2 separate regions of the Homo sapiens genome follow, and region 1 is linked to region 2. Evidence: promoter capture Hi-C in 16 types of primary human blood cells and fetal thymus (Javierre and others, 2016). All regions are on one chromosome and are shown on one strand. Each heading gives the region's core, a stretch centred on a gene start or on the middle of the fragment in contact. The rest is flanking DNA. Distances are from core to core; before and after follow the strand shown.

Evidence for each region. The method cuts DNA at HindIII sites, captures the fragments that hold promoters and counts their contacts. A CHiCAGO score of 5 or more calls a contact.
Region 1: a fragment that was not itself captured here is called in contact with the fragment with the promoter of NSMCE3 in region 2 in 6 of 17 cell types (non-activated CD4 T cells, naive CD4 T cells, total CD4 T cells and 3 more); the score reaches 8.1 in non-activated CD4 T cells.

What each region holds. Positions count from the first base shown.
Region 1 is chr15:29,823,211-29,827,710 of GRCh38, forward strand. LOC124903451 (a long non-coding RNA gene) reads left to right here and starts at 1,298. Exons shown (of 2, transcript XR_007064546.1): 1 at 1,298-1,406; 2 at 2,174-2,687. It also overlaps a transcript of TJP1 not described here. The HindIII fragment of the contact is 2,633 bases long and covers 1,912-4,500 here.
Region 2 is chr15:29,266,814-29,271,406 of GRCh38, forward strand. NSMCE3 (NSE3 component of SMC5/6 complex) reads right to left here and starts at 3,009. Exons shown (of 1, transcript NM_138704.4): 1 at 1-3,009. The coding sequence starts at 2,892. The coding sequence ends at 1,978. All of the region lies in intron 2 of ENTREP2 (endosomal transmembrane epsin interactor 2), which reads right to left. RefSeq lists enhancers at 2,304-2,805, 2,806-3,305. The HindIII fragment of the contact is 8,019 bases long and covers 1-4,505 here.

The sequences.
Region 1 (4,500 bases), core at 1,978-4,477, 560 kb after region 2:
ACCGAACGGGTCAAGCTGCCCTGCATTCCAATGCTGTCCCTCCAACTCAAAGTTGGGCAGAAAAGGGTGTAAACACGTGCAGTCCATGGTCCAGTTTAATCAGCCACTACACAAACTTCCCACAATGTTGACGGCTTTGCTAAACACCAAGGAACATGGTAAGAAACCAATCCTAGACTCACTAATCTACACTTGTAAATGTAAAGGTCTTCAAAAAATGCCAGAAATCCTTAGTAACATCAATGATAACATCTTTAAAGTATCTGGTATAGTGCCACAACCGGCACAGAAGAAATGGAAGAAATCATAAACATCAGGCTTTAGACAATGGTTTTCTCTTTAGAATTCAACTGTATGAAAAGAACAAATTTAACAAAGAAGTATGTGTAGGTGATACATAAGTATCAATTAAGGCTTCGAAGTGCCACACATCTTGCAACCCAAAGCTGTCTGAACCAGAAAAGAGCCTTCTGCAAACCAAACCCTTATTCCTTTTTGTTCTTCATAAAAATGGTTGAAGTCATTTTTGTTTTAAAGTCATGTTGTAATTGTTTTGCTTTTGGACAAAGTATTATTTATTCTTTTAAGAATTGTGGGCCAGGCGTGGTGGCTCACGCCTGTAATCCCAGCACTTTGGGAGGCCGAGGCGAGCGGATCACGAGGTCAGGAGTTTGAGACCAGCCTGGCCAATATGGTGAAACTCCGTCTTTATTAAAAATACAAAAATTAGCCTGGTGTGGCGCGTGCCTGTAGTCCCAGCTACTCGGGAGGCTGAGGCAGAAGAATCACTTGAACCCAGGAGGCGGAGGTTGCAGTGAGTCCAGATCGTGCCACTGTACTCCAGCCTGGGCAACCAGCAAGACTCTGTCTCAAAAAAAAAAAAAAAAAAAAAAAAAAAAAAAAAAAATGGTGGCCAGGCGTAGTTGCTCACGTTTATAATCCCAGCACTTGGGGCCGTGCGCAGTGGCTCAAGCCTGTAATCCCAGCACTTGAGAGGCCAAGGCAGGCAGATCACTTGAGGTCAGGAGTTCGAAACCAGCCTGGCCGACATGGTGAAACCCCATCTCTACTAAAAATAGGAAAGTAGCCGGGCATGGTGACAGACGCCAGTAATGCCAGCTATTCAGGAGGCTGAGGCAGGAGAATCGCTTGAACCCGAGAGGCGGAGGTTGCAATGAGCTGAGATCATGCCATTGCACTCCAGCCTGGGCAACAAGAGCGAAACTCCGTCTCAAATCATCATCATCATCATCATCATCATCATCATCATCCCAGCACTTTGGGAGGCCAAGACCAGAGGATTCTTTGAGGCCAGGAGTTTGAGACCAGCCTGGGAAACAGTGAGACCCCATTAAAAAAAAAAAATTGTGATTAAATTTCTTCATATGCAAACACCATTTAAAAAGGTTTGGGAAGTATTTTTTAATTTTAAAAGGTGGTGATGAAAGACCTTTCACATTATCTTTACCATTTAAGAAGATGTGCAATTGCATAAGCTGCCTAGAACTAGGTGTGGTGTCTTTAATAGCACCTAAATCTAGAGACACTATCTACAAATGCACTGACATTTTTCACTTTTCCTTATTTGTCACTTTTACAAGTTGCCCAATGTGTAATTTAAATGCTAGATTGCAACTATTTGTCACTAATTAAAAATAGTTATATATTTAACAGTTTTATCTTTGCCATGGTTTAAAAAATGAAATCAAACAAAAATATTTCATCTTGAAAATATTATTCTTTAAAAATTATATTTAGTATTTCAGTGACTAATAGTATCACTTTAAAATTTTTCAGTGGTATTTTTAATATCTAAATTAAACTTCATAAAGTCTGTTCTTTAAATAAACAAGAGAAGGCTTTTATCATCTGTAAAATAAAGGTAAAACTGTTGCCAACAATTAAAAACAAAGCTTTATTCCTGCAGTTTATTTTTTAGGTAGGTGCTTTGACAACAAGTGGAAAGTATAAAGAATAATCTGAAAGAATCACCCATTTAACAATTAAAGAGTTTATCCATGGAACACCAAAAAAGTATTTTCTGACTTTTATGCTTACACACGCATGTCATCATAGCTCCTCTAGATCAATATGGGAAGAAATACAAGTTAATTAAGGATTCTCATTTAGAGTTACTATAATGTTTAACCACAAATCTCTTTCGATTGTACAGATTTATCTTATTTCTGATCATCTCTGCAACTGAACAGGAAACTAAAAAACCACAACACTTAAAAGACAACTTCCTGTGGGATTTTTGGTGTCTGCGGCTCAGAATGAAAAAAGCATTATGTGTGCAAAATCTTTACACATTTTAGATAGAACTACTTAATAAAACAGCCTTGACCAAATGAACAACTATATCCACACCTAATTTGTATATATGTATATGTATGGTTTTAATTGCAAAAAAGATCCTTAGGAAAGCATATTTATGTTATTTTTATATGAACTGTGAGTTTACGCTTGACAAAGAGGAAGTATTTATTTACGGTAGTGAAGCATTAGACAATCTCGATAATGTCAGAGAAGAGAATATATACAAAATATTAGAAGGAGAAGCACTTTATCAAGATGTTATAACAACCAAAAGTAATCCTGATTCCACTCCTATGCCATACCATTAAAGATTCTACAAATTGTTACAGAATTTTCCTCTGCCAATAAAGTCATGTAACAATGTTAAATGGGGGAAAGATTCTTTTAAGGCTCATAATGTTTCTAAATTTCATAGACCAGTAAAAATTTTAAAACGATCTTAGAGGTGCAATATAGGAGTACCAACTTTTTAATCTTATAAAGTAAAAACATTTTAAAACAAACATTATAAACTGTATATGTAAAGATAATTAAAATGGCAAATTTTATATTATGTACATATTACCACAGTTTAGAAATACAAAAAGAAAGCTATTACCAACACCATTTCATTTTTTTTTTTTTAAAAAGAAGACATAAACACTAAAAAACAAGTCTTTTTAAATTCAATTCAGTATACAGAAAGTTATTCCTCGAAAGAATTCCTCCTATGGGGCTACCCTTACCTCTGACTGGGGCTAAGGTGGAGTTTTCTTTTTTCAGGGTCCCAAATATTGCACAACCAGGCAGGTCGGAAGCTCCATAAATCCATGACTGGAATCCAGGCAGGCTGGCATACAGGCCTCTGGCTCATCCCTTAGCGGTTTGTCCTCCATTCTTCACAGCTTCTCCACTCTGATCTACACTTTCCTATGATTCCTTTAAGACTCCCTCCCCAGCCCAGGCAAAACATCTCATCTCATAATCCATAGAGAAAACAGACATTAAGGAATAGAAACTCCCTTCCCTTCCTGCCAAAACACTGACAAGTCTACCCTGGGCATCCGCTTTTCCTCTCCATCTTCCCCCCAAGGGTTATGAATTCCATCTTGGGGGGCTGACCCTCTCAGCTGTGTCCTCTTTCTGTATCATCTTCATCCTGTCCTTAGCTAATGAATTCTACCTCTGAGAATTCAAGCGTCTTCTAGTGTTTCCCATCTTAAACACAGTCAGGGCTCCCCAGGCTACCTACCAAGGTGTGCACTACTGCAGGTATACAAGACCCTAGGGCAGAAGGGCTTGCAGTTGGGGTTTAATGTGGTTGCTGTCTTGAATTGTAAGGACTTTCGTTTTGGATGTGTGTTTTGTAAGTGAAGGTCAATGGGAAAATGAGGCACACACTGGGGACTGGGGCCTCTGCTCTCACAGGGTCCTGTCGCCTCCTAGGAGGGTATCTGGGCTGCCCGCTCCCACAGCTCTTGATACCCCTGCTGGTCCTCTCCCACTCTGCTCCACTGCCACTGCTGAAAGGGATCCAAGCAAGGTGTGGGGTTTAAGTATGCATACCCACAGCATCTTGAGTGCACAAAAGCCCCAAACGGGCAGTGTCACTTTCTGTCTGGTGGCTGCCTGGCTGGAGGCAATCTCTTGGTGAGGGTGAGCCTTTGGCCCAGCCCGGATTCCAGATCCAGTCATGGAGGTTTAAGGATCCTTGGTGGTTACCATCTGCTGTGGGTTGGAGCAATAGGCCCGTGGCTCAAAGTCCCCAAACCCTGTCCCCAGCAGGGCATTCAGGTCAGGAGGTTTGCATGAATGTCATCACAGCAAGCTATCAGGCCCAGCACACATTAGTGGGACCCCAGGGCCCTCTGACCGTCTGTACTTGCTCTGATTACCCACCCCTAATCCTCTAGGGCCCCAGGGCCAGAGTGTTCTCTGGGCTGTTTCCCTGCCTGGGGATGGGATCCTCTCCCTCCTTCCAGCCTTCCCGAGTCTGGCTGTGTTCAGTCTCTTCTAGCCGGCTTGAGGCATCCTCCAGGGACAAGCCACAGAATATAAACTGTGTAATTTCAGTGACTCCACATGAGTTAAATATTCTGAAATTTGCATTTAAAACTGGTGTTGCACAATATAAACAGTAAAATTCATGCTGATAATTCACATTTTTAATTGTTCTTTACTCTGAACATGAAATAGTGCATA
Region 2 (4,593 bases), core at 1,759-4,258:
TGGCCTCTGATGTTTCATATTTTAAAATTTGAAACAAGATTATCGATGGTAAATTGCTAACACCTCTGAGAAAAGCGGGGGGAATTTTGCCTCAGATATAACTGGTGGTGACTGCTGGGTAATAATTTTTATTATACAGGTGAGAATGCGAGTATCAGAGGGCATGAGGAGGAGAAAGCTGAGTCAGGGAGGTAAGGGGACCAGGAGGCAGGAAGGAGTTTATACACTGAAATAAAATGCAGATCAAGAAGAAATGCCTGTAAGGGCCAAACATATTCCACTGATGAAACAAATGCAAATCCCAATTCAACAGAATGAAATAAAACCCAGTAACCTATCACATTCCTCCATACTCACTATAGACTCTTTTAAATGACATTCCGTCCAGTGTTGATGAAGTTCACTTTTTTCCCCGAGTTAAAAATATTTGCCTTATTTCAAGGTTAATTTGCAGCACCTCCCCCTAAAACAATTAACTTATTTGCCCACTGAATAAAACGTGTTGAATCTCTGCATTAAAAACAGCATCTGCTACACGTAATGGAGGAACACAATGGGACTATGAACTCTTCTAGTTCATTTAGTGCATAAAACTATTATATAGCTATTATTTTTCTCATTTTACAGATAAATTGAGATTCAGAGAGCTTAAAACCTACCCCCACAACCACCATGCTGACAAGTTAGCATGAGCCGTAATTCAAATTCAGTTTGCCAGACAGCCCCAAGACCCATACCCTTTTCCCTATACCTAACTCCCTAGGAGGTAGATCTTATGTCCTGCTCTTATGTTCTATGTGGGGCACACTCACCATACACGTTATATTTCCCCATACAATAGAGTGAGACTAGAGGACTATCTTTTGAACCAGGAATTGCTCTCCTAGGAATGATTTGGAAAAAAAGATAAAGAAAAGTTATATTTAAAAAGTGGCAGCTCCAGACCAAGGAGAATAAAAAATAAAAACATTAAAGAATAACAAATAAAATTCTCCACATCACGGACTAAAACCATTTTACAGGTCAAGAAACATCTGCATACAAACTAAGGAACCTATGTAAATTCATATACTAGTTATGGTGGGGCCAGGATCTCAACCCAGACAGTCCGATTCCCAAACAGGCATGGTTAATGGTTACGCTATTGTTTTATAAGCCTTTTTGAGATCCACAGTGAGAAATATATTTCACCTCATGATCCTGATTTTGTTTCACACAAAAGTGAAACAACTTCTACAAAACAGCATTGACCTTAATATGTAGCAAAAACTTTAAGATGTTGATTTCCAGTCATGAAATTCTCTCATGACCCACGATTTAAAAAACACACAATGCTTAAGTGCTTCAAAAATACAGTATTTATTGTAATAACTACAGTAGCAAGAAGAAAAAAACGAAGTGGAACTACGTGTTTAGCAGCAGAGCTGAATAATTATGAATATAAACAATTACTATTGGGAGAAAATACATTACACTCATTGCTTGGAACCATGAATAATACTTATATATGTACGAAATATAGAAAAATAAAATAGGTTAACATAATAAGGATATAGGCAATTATTTTTTTTAATTTTATAAAAACTTTTATTTTTCCTTACAAACTGGGGTAGTTAGGAGACCTGATAATAGCTTTTTTATTTTCTTGGCACCAAAGCAACTTACTTATGTGTTCCTTCTTGCATTATCTGTTCCAGATCATAGTCAAGTTTTCCAATTCGTTTTACTAAGCTAGCAAAATTTTTTATACCAAAAAGAGTAAAATCAAAACAAATGCTCCTTTGTTTATAGATGAAAATCTGGAGCAAAATAACACAACATTAAAAAAACAAAACTTTGCAAACACATCCTAAAGCTACACACATTGAAGCGTTTACAGCAATATGCTCCCTGGGTTCGTTCTCCCTTCCCCCAATCCTCTAAACTGTGCCTTTGGGTCTCAGACCCTTGTCCCGGGGGTCCCTCTGAATCCACCTTTCAAGAGGATGGAGCTGGGCCACTAGGCTGAGGTCTGGCCCTGTTCTCCTCATCTGCCAAAGCCTCACAGTACTGCGCTGGCCAGTCCTTGGGGTCTTGATTATGGACCTTGGCCACAAACTTAAGAACTTTCATCTTGCTGGTTTCCAGGTTGGTTCGCGGGCCCCACTGGAATTCGTAGTCGACGGGGTCGGTGTGGGGTATCCGCCGGTATTCCAGGTAACGCTGTCGCACAAAGTCCTCAGTAATGAGTTTCTTTGGATCTCCGAAAATTAAATGCTTCTTGGTGGGGTAGACCCCTAAGCGCCGCAGAAAGTCCCAGGCTTCAGTTTCCTTGATGGTGTTGCCCTTCATAAAGATGAGCCCTAAGACGATCATCAGGAGGCCCGTAGTGGGCGTGCCTTGGTCACCCCTCATCTCGGCATCCTCCTCCACAGGCTCCAGGGTGTTGATGAGGATGTAAGTGTTGCTCTTGGGTTCAAGTTCCACCAGCTTATACCCGAAGACGTACTGGAGGCGCTCGGCGGCCCGTTTGAAGAGGTCGGGGAAGATGTCCTTGTAGTCCCCGATGACGTGCTTCAGTATGTCGGCCCGCTTGATCGGAATCTTCTTCTGGTCTTTAATCAGCAAGAACTGCACCAGCTCGGACACTTTCAGCTCCAGCTGCTTCTGGCTCCTGGGCCCCACGGCGGGGGCGGCCTGGGCCCGGCGGGCGCCCTGAGGCGAGGGGCCCTGCGACCCCTGCGAGCCGCCCGGCCCGCGGGACGTGCTCGGGGCCTCCTCGGCAAAGCCGTCTCTGAGAACCCGGGCGTCTTCCCCGGCCCGCGAAGCCCCGGGGTTTCCGCTATGGCTCCAGTCTCTGTCCCTCTCGGCCTGGCCGCCAGAGCGGCCCCGGTTCCTCGGTTTTTGCAACATGTCTCCGGCGGCAGGTGCCGGCGCACACTCCGGTAGGCAAGCAGCCGCGGCGGGGATTGCGGGTCGGCGACCCGCTAACGCCGGTGCCTGGAGGCGCGCGCAGTGTCGGCTGAGACTGCGTGCTGCGTCATGAAGCCTGCGCCTTGCGTCAGGGCGGCTGGGCGGTGCGCCTGCGCGGCTGCGGCGGGTACCAAAAGGAACAGCGTTTTCCGTGCAGCCCTGCAGGTCCGGGCGATGATTTTTAGTATAGTGAAGTGTTGTTACCAAACCATGCAAACAGAGAGCGAGAACCGAAACTCCTAAACAAGTGTGTCGCTAAATTCAGACCACACAGGCTCAGGCAAGTTTTACAGACAGTATTATGAGTTTCTAAATCGGGAGCATTTGTAAACGGAAAGAATTCAGAGGATGAACGTGTGAGAAAAAAAAAAGGTGAAGAGGAAGGGCCGACCGTGGAAGTAAAGTAAAAACATTTATTTCTACACAAAATGTAGAAGGACATAAAAGACCCAGAGGGCTCTTAGTTTTCGTCCCTCCACCCAATTTCATACCCTCCATCCCACTGCCCCCAGTTACTTTCTCTAATGCCCCGTGGAGTCTGTTAAAAACCAAAGTCGGCTGCAGGCTTTCTGCGCAAGCAGGACTTCAGTTTCACTATTTCCGTATTTATATTCTCTGCATTAAACTCCTTTAGCTAGACAACTATGAGAAGACCACAAAAAACGTGTCAGTATTAGGTAAATGTTTTAGCTTGGTCACATGGGTTTATCTTTTGGAAAACAACTGCTTTCGTCACAACCACAATTTTAGCAGAAATGGGTAAGAGGAATGCTGCAAACAAACGTGCACTCTCAAGAGATTACTACTTAATTTGGGGCATCACTGATCAAGAATTGCAATAATGTGGAGCTCTTAAATTTCTTAATTCATAATATATTAGCTTTGAGGAAAAAAAAGAGAACACTGGGGGATTTATCTCTCATCTATGATGTGATATACAGTCTCTACTGTATATTTTAATTGTGCAACTCAAGTAGCCAAAATGAGTCATTTCATTAACTCAAACCATCAGCAGTCTGCTGCCATGACTTCTACAGATCTTAGCAAATTTGTTTCTTCTCTATTTACTTGCAAAGAAGAAACTGAATTTCCCTGTGTCTTTTTAAAGCTACCCAGAAAGTGGATAAACTCTTCAAAGAACCAAATTGAGTTCCTCTTTAATGCAAATATATTCAAAGGAAAGCAATTTAGAACACATTATCTGAGTAATAGCATCAAACACAACCTTATTAAAATTTTGTTAATTGTTAGTAGCATAACACTTTTGTTTGTAATTCAGTAGGAAAATGCAATCTGATAATGGCACTGGAACTGCAATAGTAAATGTAAAATCATATTCCATGAACTAATGCAAGTATGCTAAAATCTGGTATGCAATGAGTAATAACTTACTGTTCCACACAAGATGCAACTATATCCTCAGGCATCAATTTTAATGACAAAGGCCTACTATGAAAAACAAATATATTATCAAGGCATTCATTTTTTTACAATGAGAAAATTCATCTGCTTCAGTTTCCTTGCAAATTAAAATCTGGACTTAGGTTCATAGAAGCTTCCTGCCATCTAGAATTCTGCAAAAGGTCCCTACTGCAGGATGTGGATGTTGTATTGAGGGAATAGAGAGACCGTCTCATATTG